Regions from separate parts of the Homo sapiens genome. Here all the other regions are linked to region 1. Evidence: promoter capture Hi-C in 16 types of primary human blood cells and fetal thymus (Javierre and others, 2016). All regions are on one chromosome and are shown on one strand. Each heading gives the region's core, a stretch centred on a gene start or on the middle of the fragment in contact. The rest is flanking DNA. Distances are from core to core; before and after follow the strand shown.

Region 1 (3,062 bases), core at 33-2,532:
CCACAAAGTGGTAGCATAAGACAGAGATGTGCATTGGAGGAAAGGGCACATAATGATTCTGAAATTCAGACCTGTGTTTGTAGAAAACGAGGTGAGCTCCGTGTTGATAATTTTGAACACATATTTTATTGTTGTAAGGATATGGGTCATTCATAATGCAAGGGGACCATCATTCCCAACTGGGAAGCTTCTAGTATCACCTAGTCCAAAAGGTCTTAAAGAGGCATTTTACCTATTTGAGGAAGGGTATCCATTATATTTTTAAAGTACATTCTCAAACCAACTGCTTTTAAAAGGGTCTTGCAGTTAAAATGACCACATAATATCCACTACGGGATAAGTGCAAGATTGGTGCAACATTGGGACAACAGACCCAGACAGGGTCTGTCCCAGGCAAATGAAAAAACATGGGCACCTATTTATGGAGGAAAAATGCCCAAGGGTTTCTAGGCGATGAGGGCTGGAGGGTTGATTTGGTAGACTCTTCAAGAAGAGGCTTCCTCTTGCCTTTTCAAGGGGGAAATAAAGATAAACTAGGGACAATGAATTTTAAGGACTTTTCAAGGGTGTGATATCTTTGCTGCTTTCATTTTGATTTTTAAAAATCCCATGTTTCCCTTTATAATTAACAAAATCCATGAATTAAAATGGGTCTTTGTGCTAATCTTTAGGGCAGCAAGAAATGAGGCTCTTGAGAAATAGTACCCCATTTTGCTATCACCTTAGATGTTGGAGAGGGAAAGAGAGGGCGAGAGAGCTGAAAGAAATCCTTCGCAAGAAAACAAAGTAAGTGGACAGAGTAGTTGGCGGGGAACATCTGGGATTATAAACACTGGGGGCAAAGACAAGACCTTGTGAAATGCCTGACATAGTATCTCACGAACCTGATGAATAAAACCATGATATCTGGGTGACCCTGGTGACAACGCTGGGAAAGGTGAGAGGAAACAGAGAGCGCTGTGTTTGAGAGTAATGTTATTGGTTCTTTAGGAACGAGACCGTGGGCTCTTAGTGACGCTGTGGGTTCCTGAGTTGTCTGGGAGTACAGGGACTGCAGCCTCGAGTCTGTCCAGCTACGATCACTTTGGAAGGCCTTCGGTGGGATGCGGGCAGAAAGCTCCCAGTGCAAAGGGCGTGCCACGAAAACCACCAGCCAGAAACCTGAGCTGGGACAGGTGCGCTCCGCCGCCGAAGCTTTCCCCGCGGCCCCTCCCACTCCCGTCCCAGGCCCGCCCACATCCCTGTCCGGGACTTAAGTCCGGCACCGCCGCCCTCTCCCCCGCCCCGCCGCGCTAGAGCCTGGGGTCTCGGCAACTTCCGGCGGCGGGAGCTGCAGAGCGCAAGGCGCGCCCACTGCGCGTGCGCTTCGGCCCGGCTCCTCCTGCGCCCCCGGCCCCTGCGACTGGGACTTGGTACGGCCGGGCGGTTGGCGTCCTCTGCGGCTCCTGCCAGGGGCGGGCTTTTCAAATCTTCCCTTTGAAGGAGTGGCGACGGCCCGGACAGTTCGCGTTGGAGATGGAGGGGCCGAGCCTGAGGGGTCCTGCGCTCCGCCTGGCGGGGCTTCCCACCCAGCAGGTGAGTTGCGGGAGGGACCCTGCCGCGGAAGGTGAGGGAGCCGGGGTTCTGTTCCTCGCGCATTTGCTTTGTGGAGGAGTCGGGAAAGCCTCTCCCCCGCTCCTCTATTTCAGCGGTGGCCAGAAACAAAGGGAGGGATTAGGAGACTGCGCTCTTGGGGCTCTAAAGGGCCTGGACATCGGAACCCCCGAGTTTCTCAGGCAGCTGAGGTCCGGATTGGGAAGGCGGTGCCGGGGTCCAGGCGCGCGTTTGCGGGCGCACCTGTCCGCTGCCCTCCCCAGGCTTTGGACGCCTGTCTTTTTGCAGGTGTAGGTGATGCCGGGGAAATGGGAGCCCCTCGATTCCCAAGAAACCCAGCGAGGCCAGTGGACAGCTGGCTTATTACGGATTTAATGGGAAGCACAGTAATGGAGCGATGTCTACACACAACACAGAACTGGTTGGGGGGAGGGGGTTCGGAGCGGAGTAGAGGCAAACAGCAACCTCTGCACTTTAGAAAAAGTTGAAGGTTTGATACTGGGTTCTTTCTCAAATCATTTGAAAGGAAAGAGGGAGTACACGTGACATTGGATAGAAGTTTGATGTTTGCTTTTGAGCCATGTAAAATGCGTTAGAAACCTTTTTATTTTACTTTTTACTAAACCAACATTATTTCTTGGCAGCATCAGTTATTAAAATGTTACCACTTTTCACTCTTAACCATAACTTTAGGGTCTTAAAAGAAAACTCTGATGTCTTTAAGCTGGACCTTCACTTCTATTTTAATCTCTACCTTCTTTTACCTACTTCAGAAATAGGTTAAGCCATATGAAATTGCCAGTTTTGTAGGTCAAAATTGGTAGAATATTTGCAATTTCATTCATATGGAGGCACCTGATATCTTTGTTTAAAAATCTGGGATTTCCTTAGCAGACACAAAATTATTAGTTTTCAATAATACTGTGAAAAATAAAGCAAGACATTAAGATTCATTATGCAAAAGAAGTCCAGTGTCTTTATCAGTAATACTTATGCTGTTTTATGCCAGCATTTTCAAAAATTTCAAAGATTTTGATGTACTTTTTTTCAGTCCTGTCCTGTTATGTACTTTGGCTGTCCTGATTGCTAACAAAATCTTGATTTATAGTGAATTGCCATTCTATTGATGTTCTTGCACCTATCATATAGGTGTAGGTGTAGCTGTCCAGGTGTATTTATTGAGCTGCAGGCTGCAAGAATAGGAATGGTACAGAAGCGACAAGAGGATAAAATCATGAAGTTTAGTTGCATGGAATGAAAATAAATGTTTAAATATACATAAAGCCTGGGTTATTTACATGTGGGAAGATACAATACTTAATTTCTTAGGCAGGACAAAATCAAAATGATTGAAATGTGGAATTACTTCCTCAGTTTGGATTTGAAGAAAAAACACAAAATAGTAGTAGGTTGCAACCTAACAGGAATATTGAGAGTCAGATAATTTTATACTTGACTAACACTGAATT
Region 2 (2,947 bases), core at 300-2,799, 330 kb after region 1:
TTTCTCAGTTTCAGCTCAGACTCCTCTATCTTTTCTTTCTTTTTCTAAAGACACATTTGGAGATGAAACCATTCATAACTGCCCATCCACAGACAGTTTGTGGCAGCATAATTGACAATGAGTCTGCTGCAAAAAAATGAAAATGCTGTTTTAATAACCTTGGCCTAAAATACATTCTGTTGTATGCCTCAAAGGGCTTCAATAAAAAGTCAACCTGTAGAGACATATTTTCTTGGCTTAAACAACAATCCAAAGCATATAAATGTAGTCCAACTATAATGACATATTTATAGGCCAATAAAGCTTACACTGCAGCTTTCATACTTCGCTTAAAGGAACTCTGTAAGAATCAGTGTTACATAAAATAATTTGATTTTTTTTTCAAACTATAGCCCAAGGAATAAAAAAATGCAAGTTTGCTATGTTTAACTGATAGTGTTTATATTCCTTACTTACTAAAAATTTTGTAAAATGAAATAATTCTTCATTTGACTACTTTCAACTGCCATACCAAATATGGGTATCAAGTCCACTTTATTATAAAAGCTAAGTACTGTAATTCTAAAGACAAAAATAAATAACTAGAGGCTTGTGTGGTGAATGATTTAATCAACCCAATTCTTCTGGAAAAACAGGTTCTTGTGTTCATTATGCTTATGAATAATACATTCCTTAACCCTCCTATTTTAACATAGTTATTTTTCTTTTTTTTTTATAAACTTCAGTATGAAACAGTCTGAAAGAAGGTAAAATATCTCACTGAGTAAAGTCATAATTTGCATTGGTTTCATATTGAACTTTCTTTCTTTGAAAAGGACAAAGAGGAGGGAAGAGAATGAATGCACTTTACCACATTTCAGAAGTGTTTTTTAAGATTATTAGTTTTTCCACTATCCAGATCTGTAGTTTTAGTCATCAACCATTAAGAGTCTTAAATGAAAACTCTAGAGAGTTTTAAAAAGCAGAAAGATGACATCCTCAAATATTGTCTAAATGTGCTCCCTCAAGGGGGAAGGGGATAAAAAAAAAATGAAAGAGTTGTGATTTGAATCAGAGCATTTATTGGAAGCTGCCATGTGGGGCAGAGTTTCTCTTTGTGGAGTATTAATTTGTTGGCAGACACACATTTGTGAGAACATTCTTGTTTTTTTTTTTTACTATTCAGAGAGAGACAGGAAGTGACACAAACTGGAATTAAAGCGAACTTATTCTACCTAAACACTAAGCAAGAAAAGTGCTTTAATGAGCTTTTATATTTTAAAATCCCTTCTCTAAGAACCAATCTAATTATTTTGTTATTATTCATGTTTCAACATTATGAAATAACTCAGTTAAAAAACGATAACATGTTGGAGTTTTACTTTATCCATAGAAAGGTGAGATCTTTCCGTTCTTTGCTTACTTCCACCAGAAAAAAAGGGGGGGGGCCTCAAATAATCTCACAGTTCATCTTCTTTCTTTGGTAAGAACAATGAGGAGTTGGAAGGGTTCTACAGAAGGAAAAACCTAATAAGTGTGTGAATTTCCATTAACAATGTGGTATTGGAGGTGGTTTCAGTGTGACCAACAGAAAAGGAGATAAGAAAACCACTGCGGAGAAAGAAAAGTACAGACAACAAATATTTTGATGTTATAGAAGAGGCTGAAGAGAAAGTTGTGGGGACAGGAATGTGTACAGAAAATGACACCCCCTATCTCCTCAATATAAATCCTGACAATGTAGACTTACAAACCTTAGATTAGGCAGATAATGGAAACTCATTACATTAAGGAAAGTTTTTGTTTCTCTTTCCACATTATTACAACACAGTGTGCATTCCAATTACAAAAGCTATTTGTCTCAAATTCCCCACAGTTCATAGCAACTGAGTAGAATTTCAAGGCCCTAAATTCTATCCTTAAAGGGGTATTTTACATTAAAAATTTTTTAAGTACATGGTGTTTCTTGTGCCCCAGGAGAGAGCCTCCCAATCAACTCTCCTGTTGATCATTTTCCCTTCTTCAGCACTAATCATAAAGCTGTCTCCAAAATGAGACCAAAACAAACAAACAAAATCAGACTCAACCTAAAAGCCTTTTTTGTTTTGTTTTGTTTTGTTTTTGAGACAGAGCCTCGCTGTTGTCGCCCAGGCTGGAGTGCAAAGGTGTGATGATTTCGGCTCACTGCAACCTCTGCCTCCCAGGTTCCAGCAATTCTCTTGCCTCAGCCTCCCAAGTAGCTGAGATTACAGGCCCCTGCCACCACACGTGACTAATTTTTCTATTTTTAGTAGAGATGGGGTTTCACCATGTTGGCCAGGCTGGTCTTGAACTCCTGACCTCAGGTGATCCACCTGCCTCGGCCTCCCAAAGTGCTGGGATTACAGGCGTGAGCCACCGCACCCGGCCAGGAACCTTTTTATCAATACACATTCATTGGCCTTTCCTTACTCCTACTGAATGAAGAATCTAGAAAAGCTGGTCTCAGTAATCAGTATTGTTTTTTAAATTTCTTTCTTGAGTCTAATAAGCAACTAAATTTAAAAACCACTCATCTAGATTTTCCAGGCCAAACCACCTGCAAGTACTGTGAATATTCACTATAAACCAATTTCTTCTGGAATCAACTGCAAAAAGGTAGAATATGGACCTTCTTTTTTTTTAGAATCCAAGAGGATCAACCTTTTATTTCTTTGGGTGGAATTAAGAAATTAGACTTATTTTCCTGTTCATTAATAAATTATCCATTTTAAACACAATTTTAAACATAAACCTTGCTATAAATACTCTTGTTTATATGTGTGACATCAAGCTTAACCATCTACACATCCTTTTGTCCCCTGTGGGTTTCCTGTTTAATTTTTTATTAGTAACAGTATATTCCATAACACACACACACAAAATTAAACAAACAAAAGAAAGGTTTTAATGTTAAGGAAAACATAAGACAATGGTAATACAACTTAGA
Region 3 (2,869 bases), core at 60-2,559, 500 kb after region 1:
CTGGTATGTTTTCACAGTGTTCCAGTAACGTGGCAGTCCGTTTGGGTCAAAATGGATGAAGTTATTATCATCTTTCTTTATTTCTGGTTATTTAAAAAGTTGACTTCATTCTCCTTGAAGATGAATAGGATTTATTAGTCAAAACGTCAAAGGACTATCATAAAAGTAATTGTATTTTTATATATAATTTTTCAAACTCTTGTATACAAAATGTTCTCATTACACTTGGTGCAATAAATTCAGAGGCTGTTATGGGATGGGAGATAGCAAAATTGGGACCAATACTTTTCTAATTACTTAGGAAAATAAAAAGTGGGGCTTGGTTTTCCTTTCACAACTAAGTGATGGAGACACGACGCTCCAGAGAGTCTGTTATTCTGGCTGGTTTTGTTTGTTTCTGTGAAGTTTAGCATCACTCTCCTTGTACCAAGTCCTTAGGCCTTTTTCAATTTTTCTATTCGTGCATTAAAGGCCTCTTCCTGTATTTGCAGTTTTTCGTTTATCTCGGTCTGTGAAGACAATCATAAAAAACGTGGTTATGATGGAGCTATCTTTTGCTGCACATTGTCTTTGTGGTTTTGACATACTATAGTGCCTAAAGACAGATATTATCCCTCACACACCTTCCTGTTTTGCAGACATAGCTGTGTTTCAGCCTGTAGTGATGTGATAACACTTTATCATATTTCTCTGCACATTTCCAATGTATAGCATGTCTGCTATGAACAGGAAGTGGTATTTGGACAGCCATTTTTCACAAAGCCTTGTGTTGGAAGATAGGATAATTTATCTGTATTTTCAGACAGACTTTACCAATAAGCACTGAATCAGAATAACTGCTTTGGGCTCAGTTATTGCAGTGCTGTGGGTCCCTCCACCATCTGCAATGGATGTCTGTGTCTCCCGTGTAATACATTCTAAATGAGATCCCAGGAAGCTTCTGTTGTGAAATAACAACACAAATAACCTTACAATTAGAACAACTCCCATAATTAAGAGTATTCATCATACATTAGAACTCTTGGAATGATGCCACTTTCTGATATATTTTTGGTAAAAAAAGTAAGCAATTGCTCTCAGGTTTTGTGATTGCCGAGGTGGTGATAGCATTTTGCCTCTGGCAGCGATCTTCTGTGGACTCACATTGCTACCTGCACAATTCCATAAATACGTTCACATTAACTGAACATTAGTAGCCCTGGAAATGTCTTCCCTTTTTCACAAGGGATAATAAAATTACATACAGAAAAAGCAGTGGTGGTTGACGTGGCAAAATTGATGTTTTTGTTGTTGTTTAGGTGATTTTTAAAATGTCTACCGCTGTATAAGGAGTAGCTTATACACATATGTGTTAATAAATTCAAAGTTTGGATTTCTAATAGCTATAACATTATTTGAGGGCTTCAGGGTAACTGTACTTTGCAAACCTTTTATTATTTTAATTTAGATAGAAGACATTTAAAAAAATCAAATACTGTTTTAAGCCCAGATATAATTTTTCATATTTATTTACAAGAGTGTAACTATAACAGATAGTTGTGACATGTCCATGCTGCCTTATCTGATGAGATTTGATTTCACCTCACAGTAAGATTTGATATTTCTGGAAAGATCGTATGTGTGCCAACAATTCTGGGTTCAGAACTCACATAAGTATCAGTCTTTTCTGGTTCAAGCTTTAGTAAACCTTGGGATCAAGCTCCGGCCTCTGGTTTCTTATCTTTTCCTTTCTTGGTGGTTGGGTGGAGGAGGCAAGGAGGGATGGAGCGGTCCTCCAGGTCACAGAGGAACTCTTCCTTTAGGATGCACTGACTCTAAAGAAATCATCATCTATGCATGATTTTAGGTAGGGTCGAAAGAAGCACTGATCTTGGACTGGGAAGATCTAGGTACTAGTTCAGCTACGTCACCTTAGGTAAGTCATTTCACCACCTGGATTTTAGCTCTTACCTTAAAAATTAAGTAGGGGAATAGGATTATGTTAATATCAAACTTTAGTTTTTGAATTCATAATTCCAACTTCCAATTTTGTGATATACTTCACCAATGTTATCTTTCATTGTTATGATGTCATGAAATACTTAAAAATCTGTTACTCCTGCCTTATTAAAATAAATTTATGGGATACAACATATTGGACCACATAGGGATTAAAATGGTTTGAAATAATTTTACCACAATTTCAAAGGATTGGGAAGAATTGCGCCACTCAAACAATCGATTCTTCCCACTTTCAATTAATGTCCCTCTATGCCCACCAGTAATCTCATTTCTTTTCAGCTAAGGATTGATGTGCTTATCATCTACCAGTTTCTGTTTCACTACCACATAGGGATTTTACATTCACTTGGAGGCCTTTCTGGTATTTTACCGAGACAGAATTTATCAAAACAAGTGTAGGCCTTGGGAAAAGGTTCATGAAGGGGCAGCTAAGAGAGTGGCATACTGACAGAGGTGAGTAATGTCTCAGATCTCCAGACCTTAGGCTTAGTACTTTAGTTCAGTCACAACCAGCAGAGTTTGGATCTAAAGGCTCCACGTCTAGTCAATAACAGGCTGTCATTAGCCGTGTTTCCTTGTCATTCTTCAGAACTTTGCTGAACAGACAAGCAATCCTGCAAATACTATGGTTGGGTCTGGTTCTTTTTTTTTTTTTTAAGGAAAAAAAATATGTTCAGTAGTCTCTCATTGACCACTTCTTTGAGATGATTTCATGCTCAGCTTTTCTAACCTGGAAAATTCAAGTTGACCTAAAAACATCTAGGGTCCCAAGATGGCAAACTTCCCTCAAAGTTTTTATATTATATTACCCTATTGCTTCCACAGGGCCAACAGCCAACATGTAATGTAAGAATTTAGTGTTAGCATT
Region 4 (2,899 bases), core at 37-2,536, 360 kb after region 1:
AGTTTTGCTACCTAGACATCTGGTGACCTTTGGCAAAACTGATTAACTAGTTACAATTCTAAAATGTCTGAGGGACTGTTCACATTAGTACACACTTCTAGAATGTAATATGATGAATTCAAGCTCTGCTTTCAAGGGTAGGTTTCACTGGGGAGAAAAGATAACCTTGAATTTCAAGGAGGCCTGGGTTCTAGCCTGGTGACCTTTGACAAACCACATAACCTTTCCGAGTCTATGTCCCCATCTGTAAAATGGGTGTACAAAGTCCTGCCTTATCCAGCCTCCCACAATTTATTACAAAAATCATGAGAAAATATTCCAAAAAAAAAAAAACCCTCTGCAAATCACAGCAAACCACACAGGGACGCTATTTCTAATCTTGCACAATGATCATTTTTCTGCTTTTAGAACTGACGTCTTTACATTTCAAGAAATCATAAAAAGGCAGAATGATTCTCTTAAACCAAAAAAAGCATACTGAGTCCTGGCTGTCCTTTCGAAATGGATGCTGATGTCAGCTCAATCAAGAAATTATTAATCTCCATTTGGTTACTTAAAATAAACTGTACTGGCTGATTAAATGTGCTGAACATTTTCTCCAAGTAACAGTGCATATCACCAAGAAACCTTTCTCTTTCAGTTACACATTGCAAATGGCAAATGCATCATTCAAAACTATTTAAAATCAATAATAAAAATCATTTAAATGTATATAAACAAGTTAATGGAATAAGTGAAAACAAAGCAAATTTCTTAATGAGAGGGCCCTGTTGCCCCCTCTAGGTGCCAGCAGTAAATGCTGGTTTCTGTAAGGCTCTCCTCCAGAGAAGACTGCTGCTGCTATTCTGCTAATGAATGACTAACTTAGGCCAGGGGGGAAATGACATCACCAGGGTGGAAAACCGATCTGCATTGGGAAACTTTCTACCTGCTTTACATTTGTCATAATTATTTTGCACAATGCAGTCTGCATTTGCATAATTTTGAGGCGTGTCATTATCTCAATTGAAAATTGTTTTAATATGGCTGAATAATTCACAATGACATCAGCCAAAGTCCTAATGAAATATACAAGTATAATCATACAGCTAATTACCAGCCGTGTTAGCATTAAAAAACAAATCATGCATAATATTAGACGATGTATATGCAGCTGAGGATTATAAATAGAGCCATCTCCCTCCGCAAACCCCCTAGAGTTTACTTTTAAATGGCAAGATTAATTTTCTCAGGTATGGCTCATATAGCAGTGACGAAATGCACAGATCATTACAATGGTTCCCTTTCAATTCCCCATAATGAACAATTAAAAAGAAATCGTGTATTTAAAAATATATCTATTCACTGTCAACACTTCTAGCAGATGCAACGTTTGGCAAATATAGCCTTTATTCTTAAATCAGAATTCACCATTTAATTACACCAACAAAAATTAAAACTGTACCAAGTGGGGTCAACTCAGGGTCTTTAAAAAACATCCCAATTTCAATTCCCCGCCCCCCAAAAAAGAGTGACCACAAAATATCCCATAAAACACTGAATAATTTCCTCCTGGACTTAGTCAGAAGTCTGTTAAGCACCAGTTCTTTTCTGGATATTTAATCCTTCCCTTTTCCAGATCACAGGCCATGTTGAAGTAATAAATTTGAAAAGCAAATAATAAGAAATCAGGAGGGGGAGAGGGAGGGGGAGGAAGACAGCTGCGCAGGAAAGTTGGGTCGGGGGAGGGGGCCGAGCCAGACCTTGGGAGGGGGAAAGAGCTCAACCTGTTGGTAGGTTGCAGGATTTTTCACAGTATTTCCAAACAACACCTTTTTAAAATTGCAGGCGGACGTCGGGAAATATGAACATTTAAAAACCAAAGCTGGCCGGGGAGGGTGGAGGGGGGAGGTGAGCGGGGAGGTGGGAGGGGCTTATTTCCGAAAAGGCAGATTCGAGGGCGAACGTTTCGACGAACTCCAGTAATTAACCGGCATAGACCACTGACGAGTAATTCGATCCTGGGGAGAGGGAGTGAACTAGCAATGCCAAAAGTACTATCAACTCGATCAAACCGAGGAATTCTGGAAGGACTGGCAGCTCCGAGCCCCGGGATGAGTTAAACGGGAAACCATTCATTTAACAAAAAGATCCTTAGATCCTTACACCTACCTCGAAAGCTCGAGAGCCTGGCACAGCACTAGCTGCCCTCAAAAGTCTGTTTGATTACCCTGCTCTCGCTTTGGCAACACAAAGCCTCGCCAGGCGGCAGTGCGCCCTCCCTCCCCGCTGCGCCGTGGGCACAGACTCCCCAAAATAGTTCCCCTCGGTAGGTACCACGGCGCTGAGGTCGGTCAGCTGAGGAGGGGAGCCCGCAGAACTGCGGTCACACATGAAATGACAGAGCCGAAGGGAGGCGGCCGCCCCGGCGCCCAGTGACAGCGGGCTCACCTCCGGCGTCCTCCCGGGAGCGCGGCGAGCGCCCCCGCGGCCGCCCAGAAACGTGCCGGGGAGGCTCTGTCCCCTCCCCGCCCTCCCCGGGAGCGCCGTCTGGGCACGGAGAACGCTGGACCCGCAGGGCCAGTGGGCGAGCACACACCCCTCTGCCCTCCCCTCCCCCGCCCCCGTCCCACACACCCCCAAAGATCGCGCAGGAGGACGTCCACTTTGCGTGGAGTAATTGCAAACTAGAACATCAAATGGCTTGTCCGGGGGGAGGGGGAGTGGGCGAGAGATAGTTGTTAATGCTTAACGTGTTTGTGCCTGTTACACCACCGCTTTGAAATCCGCCCGGGCAGATCTGCAAGTTATTTGAATGTATTATTCCAGTACCTGTCATTTATCACTTTATTCAACACGTCTTTGCCAACTCAATAGCTTTTGATCTCATTCTGCCTCCATTTCGTAATTTCCGCCCTCT
Region 5 (2,964 bases), core at 5-2,504, 350 kb after region 1:
ATGTGCCACCACGCCCAGCTAATTTTTGTATTTTTAATACAGACAGGGTTTCATCATGTTGGCCAGGCTAGTCTTGAACTCCTGACCTCAGGTGATCCACCCGCCTTGGCCTCCCAAAGTGCTGGGATTACAGGCGTGAGCCACCATGCCCGGCCCAAACATGCCTATTTTCTTATGCATTAAGGAGCCTGTTTATATCAGCTACAGGATCCTCCTTCCTCATTTCTCTCTGCCGATTTCTCATCTAACCAGACACAATGCCCTTTCCAGCAAAACTCTCCAAATGCAATGATCAAGACATTAGATGTAAAAAAGACCCGATATGGCTTGTTGACATGCTGTAAGACTAACAAATCTTCAAAAGATTAGGCAATCTGCAGTCTACTGTGTATGTCATCTATAGTTATATGCCCTGAAGAGCGGGGAGATATTTGGGAGGAACCATCCAAGGAGACTGTATCAAAAAATTAGCCGGGCACAGTGGTGCACGCCTGTGGTCCCAGCTATTTGGAAGGCTGAGGTGGGAGGATCGCTTGAGCCAGGGAGGTCGAGGCTGCAGTGAGCCGTGGTCACACTACTGCACTCCGACCCAGGTGACAGAGTGAGACTCTGTCTCAAAAATAAATAAATAGATAAACAACTAATAAAAGGGAAAAAAGGAAAAAAGTAAAACAGAGTAAGAAGAATACCTTTCAACCCTCATCAGATGAGCTGTACACTGAAGTGATTGGCTCTGTTGCCAGCTGTAATAGGTGGCCTCGAAGATGGTCCCCTGAGATTATATGCAACCTCCTAATAATCTCCTGCTCTTGGGTGTGGGCTAGACAATAATGCCTCACTTCTAACAAACAGAATTAGGCAAAAGTGATGGGATGTCACTTCCAGCATCAGGTTATAAAAGGACTATGGCTTGTGTCTCATTCCTACACCTTACACTCTGAGGGGAGTCCGTTGCCATGTTTGAGTTGCCCTATGGAGAGGCCCATGTGGCCCAGCAAGGAAGCCAGGGAGACCCAGACCCACTGCCTGAGAGGAACTGAGGGCCTCAGTCCAACAGCCTGAGAGATCTGAGACCTGTCAACAGGCAAGTGAGTGGGTCTGAAGTATTAATAGATCCTCCCTCTACAGAGCTTTCAGATGGCCACAGCTGGGGAGGACACCTTGACTGGAGCTTTGAGAGTCCCTTAGCAAGAGGCACCCAGCTAAGCCTTACTCAGACTTGCCACCCACAGAAACTGTGGATAGTAAGTGTTGTTTTAACAAGACACCAAATCTGGGGTAATCTGTTACACAACAATAGATAACCGATACAACCATCTTTAACACAGGACACATTTACACACCATTGTATGACAATAAAATAAAGTTTGTAAAATGAGGTGCTAAATATGTTTCAAGTATTCCTAGAAATTAGATAATTTTCTGCAGAGTTGACGACAAACCAATAGTAAAATACTTCATGCAACTGCCTAAATCCTAAATCAACTGCCTGTATGAGAGATCTTTCATTTTGGAGGGGTATCCATAGAAATTTCTAAGAATACTATCTAACAATGTGAGTGTATTTTTCAGTATGAAAGAGGCCATATAATCTTGCCAAGTATGGCTAACTTGAACATGTTTGATCTCCTCTAACTAGAGAGAAAGAAGCTGATTTTATTCATCCCCTTATCACCCCCCATAGTACCCTGGTACATCCTAATAAATATTGATTGAATTTAATTGAATAAAAGGTTATAGTCAAAGGCCCATATTTAAAAATATAAATGTTATATTTTTTCAAGAGCAATATTATGTTATGCCCTTAACTACCATATGAGAATTCCAAGCCCCATCTTCCTTTTTTTTCCATCTACTCATTTAAGAGTCATCTTTTATTTGGGAGGCCAAGGCAGGCGGATAACCTGAGGTCAGGAGTTCGAGACCAGCCTGGCCAACATGGCGAAACCTGTCTCTACTAAAAATACAAAAAAAAATTAGTCAGGCATGGTGGCACACGCCTGTAATCCCAGCTACTCAGGAGGCTGAGGCCTGAGGAGCATCGCTTGAACCCAGGAGGCGGAGGTTGTAGTGAGCCGAGATTGCGCCATTGCACTCCTGCCTGGGCAACAAAAGTGAAACTTCTCAGGAAAAAAAAAAAAAAAAACAAAGATTCATCTTTTAAAGACCAATTAGAAAAGTCAGCTGGCACAGCTGAGCAGTTAGAACTGTATTAACTGTAAGTACAATCTGCAGACCCTGTCCTCCTGTCCCTCAATCTTCATGGCCAAGACTGAAGCAAGATTCCTCTTGGCTTAAGCAGAGAGAAAAAAGGACACACAAAAAGCCTGTAAAGATTAAGGCAAAAAGAAAAAAAAATTAAGACAACTGAGATATCTCAATATTCTGACATGCTGAGAATGTTTTTACTCCACTGCCTCAAGGGGTCATTTAAGGAATTCTGGGGGTCAGGAGAGATGTGAACACCTGCTTGGCTGTCTCTTGAATTACTGATCTAGTAATATCAAAAATGTGGAGTGAGAAAGAGGACCTATAATGTAAAGAAATAAAAACAAACCCAGAGCTTGTTGATAATTTTTAGACACCACCATTTATGTGATTCATACGATCTGCATTTAAAAAAAAAAACTTCAGTCTTTTTACTAGAGCCCTCTTTCTTGTCTGTCCAGATAGTTAGGGATGCATATTTTACAACCAATGCATTGTTGCTAAAAACACACTCAGCCCCCAGGAGCACAAAATACTATTAGACTATTACAGAGAATATTCACAAGGAACAGATTATTTCACTTAAGAAATATCGAATTCAGTTATTTTTTCTGTATTTATAACCTATATATTTTGGAATCATTTGGCGAGGAGACTGAGTACTACAGCAGTGTTTTCATCTGAATTCTAGTGATCTGATATACACTGTGGGATTAATCCAAAGCAAAAGGATTTAATGGCCCAGAAGGCTACCTC
Region 6 (2,794 bases), core at 141-2,640, 380 kb after region 1:
CTTGCCTGCTCAACATGGGTCATTATAGGTGAAAGACAGCACAACTGGGAACTGCTGGACCTGGAGGGACAGTGTCATGCATAGACCAAGAAAAGTTCATGTTGACAACATGTCAAGGCTTGTTTCGTATGGTTTAAATTGGGTTTCATGAAGTGGAAAACAATGCATGAAACCATTCTTGTTCTTTGTTCTTCAAAACACATGAAAATATTGGGAAGATTTAAATGTAGGAGTTAACATGACACTTAATGTCTCTTTGTGCCTTTGTTTATGTCATTACTTCTTCTGGATGTCCCTCAATTTGCCTTCTCACCATACCCACCCAGAGAAGTCCAACATGCCAACTGAAAAATGGACAAACAATAAGAGTAGTCCATTGCCTTAAGTGCTTACATGCATGCATCTAACTCTATACGGCAATCACTAATATTGTTCTCATTCTAGATGAAGACACTGAGGCACAGAGAGGATATGTAACTGGCTTGAAATCATTAAATTCAGAGGCAGAGACTGAATTCAGACTCGAGTAGTCAGTCTCCAGGGTCTGTGCTCTCAAGAACACACTTTACCAAGTTTTTGATGGCATTGTAAAGGATTTTAGAGAAGAAAAAATTAAAATGTTTGCTGAATGTATTAAAATTAAAAAATAAAATTATGTTTATGACCCACCAACTTGGCAAATATTTTAAATAGTGGCTGGTGGTGGGGAGGAAGTGAGAAAATGGAATTTGCCCTGCTGGTGGGAGTGCCAGTTTGTACAGTCCTTCTGAAAGACAAATTGGCAGTACAGTATGTAATAAGTCCCTTGGAACATACTGCTAGACCCAGAAATTTTACTCCCATGAATTTATCCTAAGGACAATTTTGGAGAAGTTCACAAAAAATGAATGCATAAAATTTATGTAAGAACATTGTTTAAAATAGCAAAAAGTTGGAAACAACATAAATAATTTACAATGGTGGATTGGTTAAATAAATTATGGTACAACTCTAATAAAAAATATGCAGATATTAAGAATGTAATAGAACCATGTTTACTGACATGGAAAGATGTTCAAAATAATGTTAAGTTTAAAAAGAAAATAGTTTTTAACTTAAAACATAAGTTTATGTCAATAGTAGAATTAAGACAGTTACAGATTTCTTTGTGGTGTTTGGTAGTTTCCAATGTATTACTTATATAAAAAATAAAAATAGACCAGGTGAGGTGGCTCACACCTGTAATCCCAACATTTTGGGAGGCCGAGGCGGTTGGATCGCTTGAGCCTAGGAGTTCAAGACGAGCCTAGGCAACATGGTGAAAGCCCCTCTCCACAAAAAATGAAAAAATTAACTGGGCAGGGTGGTGTGTGCCTGTGGTCCCAGCTATTCAGGAGGCAGAGCTGGGAGAATCACCTGAAGCTGGAAGGTCAAGATTGCAGTGAGCCGGGAATGCACCCCTGCATTCCAGCCTGGGTGACAGAAAGAGACTCTGTCACAAAAAGAAACAAACAAACAAACAAAACCACACACACAAAAACCCCTAGATCTTCCTTGCCTTAGCCATTGGAAAACTTTTTTCATATGTGCAAAACAGGCAGTGACTCTAACCAGAGTGAGTTTAAAGTAAAATTAATTGTTAACGTTCATTGAGCACTTATTATGGGCTAGGAGCTCTGTTAAATACTTTAAATGATTTCTTTTCATCCTTACAACTCTTCTGATGTGAGCACTCTGTCTTTTTACAGTTCAGAAAACTGAAGCACAAAAAGATTTAAATAACTTGCTCCAAGTTCACTGAGAAGGCAGCTTCTAAGGGGATGTAAATAATTTGTAGGATTCAGAAATGAAAGAATAAAGTTGGCCTTTGGGCATTAAAGCACCATCTCCTATGGATAGGAACGTTAGCTAGTTAGCCCAACACAGAAGATCAGTTTAGATCTTCTGGTTAAAAATAAAACCATTCATTGAGATCGAGCCCTGAGGGAACTCGGGATGGGTAAACAGCTATATTGTGTGACTTTTTACCTTGCAGTTAACTTCTCTGCCAGATAGAAAGTGCTTTACTAGTAGATTTCTTTTTCCTTTGTATCTCACACAAAGCCTATCCCACCCGAGGAGGAGCCTGAGAGAAAGTCACTTCAATTCAATTTTGGTAATTTAGAGATTTTGCTTGGCACGCAGTCTCCTTCCAATACTTGTCTCTATAAACATTGATCTTCTCTACCTCTCTGAGGGTCTCTACCCTTGGTATGTCGCTGTTCCTCATCATTTAGTAGCTGGGAAATATAAAGGCAGAAGTCCTAAATCTGTGGCAACTTTAGAACTTCTAAATAGTAGAGCCCTGGAGGTAGTAGCACAGTTGGAGGGAGGTGGCTGGACACTCTAAGTTGTGTCTACATAGTACTTAACACAAGAGTGAGAAGGTGTCAGGTGTGTGAATCAAAGAATGGGCTACTGATAAGTGACTTAGCCCTGAGGAAGGGTAATGAATAGTGACCAGGCTCCAAAGAAAATGTGCCCAGTGCCCTAATCCTTGGGTCTCTGCTTAACCTCAGCATGCCTTCAGACACAGAGGAATTGCTTTCAGTGATTGAGTTATCATCAATATTCTATCTCAGATGGAGGGAACCAGGATCTTGAAAAGACAGAAAACTTTTATGACTATTATTCTTTTGTTCATGACATTTATGTTTCTGAAATGCCTCTACTTATTCTCTCTCTCATGATCCATTGCAACCCAACTCAAGTGCCCCCACCTCCTTCTATAAAGAATTCTCTGTTGCTACCAGACATATTGAGAATGATCTCAATA

The links. Contacts are between HindIII fragments. The CHiCAGO score rates a contact against its expected background, and 5 or more counts as called.
Region 2: a fragment that was not itself captured here is called in contact with the fragment with the promoter of RTKN2 in region 1 in 1 of 17 cell types (neutrophils); the score reaches 5.3 in neutrophils.
Region 3: a contact is called between a fragment that was not itself captured here and the fragment with the promoter of RTKN2 in region 1, in 1 of 17 cell types (total CD4 T cells). The highest score is 5.0, in total CD4 T cells.
Region 4: a fragment that was not itself captured here is called in contact with the fragment with the promoter of RTKN2 in region 1 in 1 of 17 cell types (fetal thymus); the score reaches 5.1 in fetal thymus.
Region 5: a contact is called between a fragment that was not itself captured here and the fragment with the promoter of RTKN2 in region 1, in 1 of 17 cell types (neutrophils). The highest score is 6.4, in neutrophils.
Region 6: a fragment that was not itself captured here is called in contact with the fragment with the promoter of RTKN2 in region 1 in 4 of 17 cell types (neutrophils, non-activated CD4 T cells, activated CD4 T cells and 1 more); the score reaches 7.3 in neutrophils.

What each region holds. Positions count from the first base shown.
Region 1 is chr10:62,267,064-62,270,125 of GRCh38, reverse strand. It overlaps RTKN2 (rhotekin 2), which reads left to right and starts at 1,282. Exons shown (of 12, transcript NM_145307.4): 1 at 1,282-1,575. The coding sequence starts at 1,516. The region is part of intron 1 of LINC02621 (long intergenic non-protein coding RNA 2621); the gene reads right to left. RefSeq lists a silencer at 1,201-1,530. The HindIII fragment of the contact is 2,285 bases long and covers 1,197-3,062 here.
Region 2 is chr10:61,941,951-61,944,897 of GRCh38, reverse strand. All of the region lies in intron 3 of ARID5B (AT-rich interaction domain 5B), which reads right to left. Among named protein-coding and RNA genes, the nearest start is that of ARID5B, 42 kb to the right of the region's middle. The HindIII fragment of the contact is 2,488 bases long and covers 306-2,793 here.
Region 3 is chr10:61,763,579-61,766,447 of GRCh38, reverse strand. It overlaps CABCOCO1 (ciliary associated calcium binding coiled-coil 1), which reads right to left. Exons shown (of 8, transcript NM_001366906.2): 8 at 1-509. The coding sequence ends at 435. Among named protein-coding and RNA genes, the nearest start is that of CABCOCO1, 100 kb to the right of the region's middle. The HindIII fragment of the contact is 739 bases long and covers 940-1,678 here.
Region 4 is chr10:61,902,880-61,905,778 of GRCh38, reverse strand. All of the region lies in intron 2 of ARID5B (AT-rich interaction domain 5B), which reads right to left. Among named protein-coding and RNA genes, the nearest start is that of ARID5B, 2.6 kb to the right of the region's middle. RefSeq lists a silencer at 2,329-2,648. The HindIII fragment of the contact is 4,018 bases long and covers 1-2,899 here.
Region 5 is chr10:61,919,512-61,922,475 of GRCh38, reverse strand. The region is part of intron 2 of ARID5B (AT-rich interaction domain 5B); the gene reads right to left. Among named protein-coding and RNA genes, the nearest start is that of ARID5B, 19 kb to the right of the region's middle. RefSeq lists an enhancer at 1,021-1,200. The HindIII fragment of the contact is 7,128 bases long and covers 1-2,964 here.
Region 6 is chr10:61,885,939-61,888,732 of GRCh38, reverse strand. No RefSeq gene overlaps it. Among named protein-coding and RNA genes, the nearest start is that of ARID5B, 14 kb to the left of the region's middle. The HindIII fragment of the contact is 2,855 bases long and covers 1-2,794 here.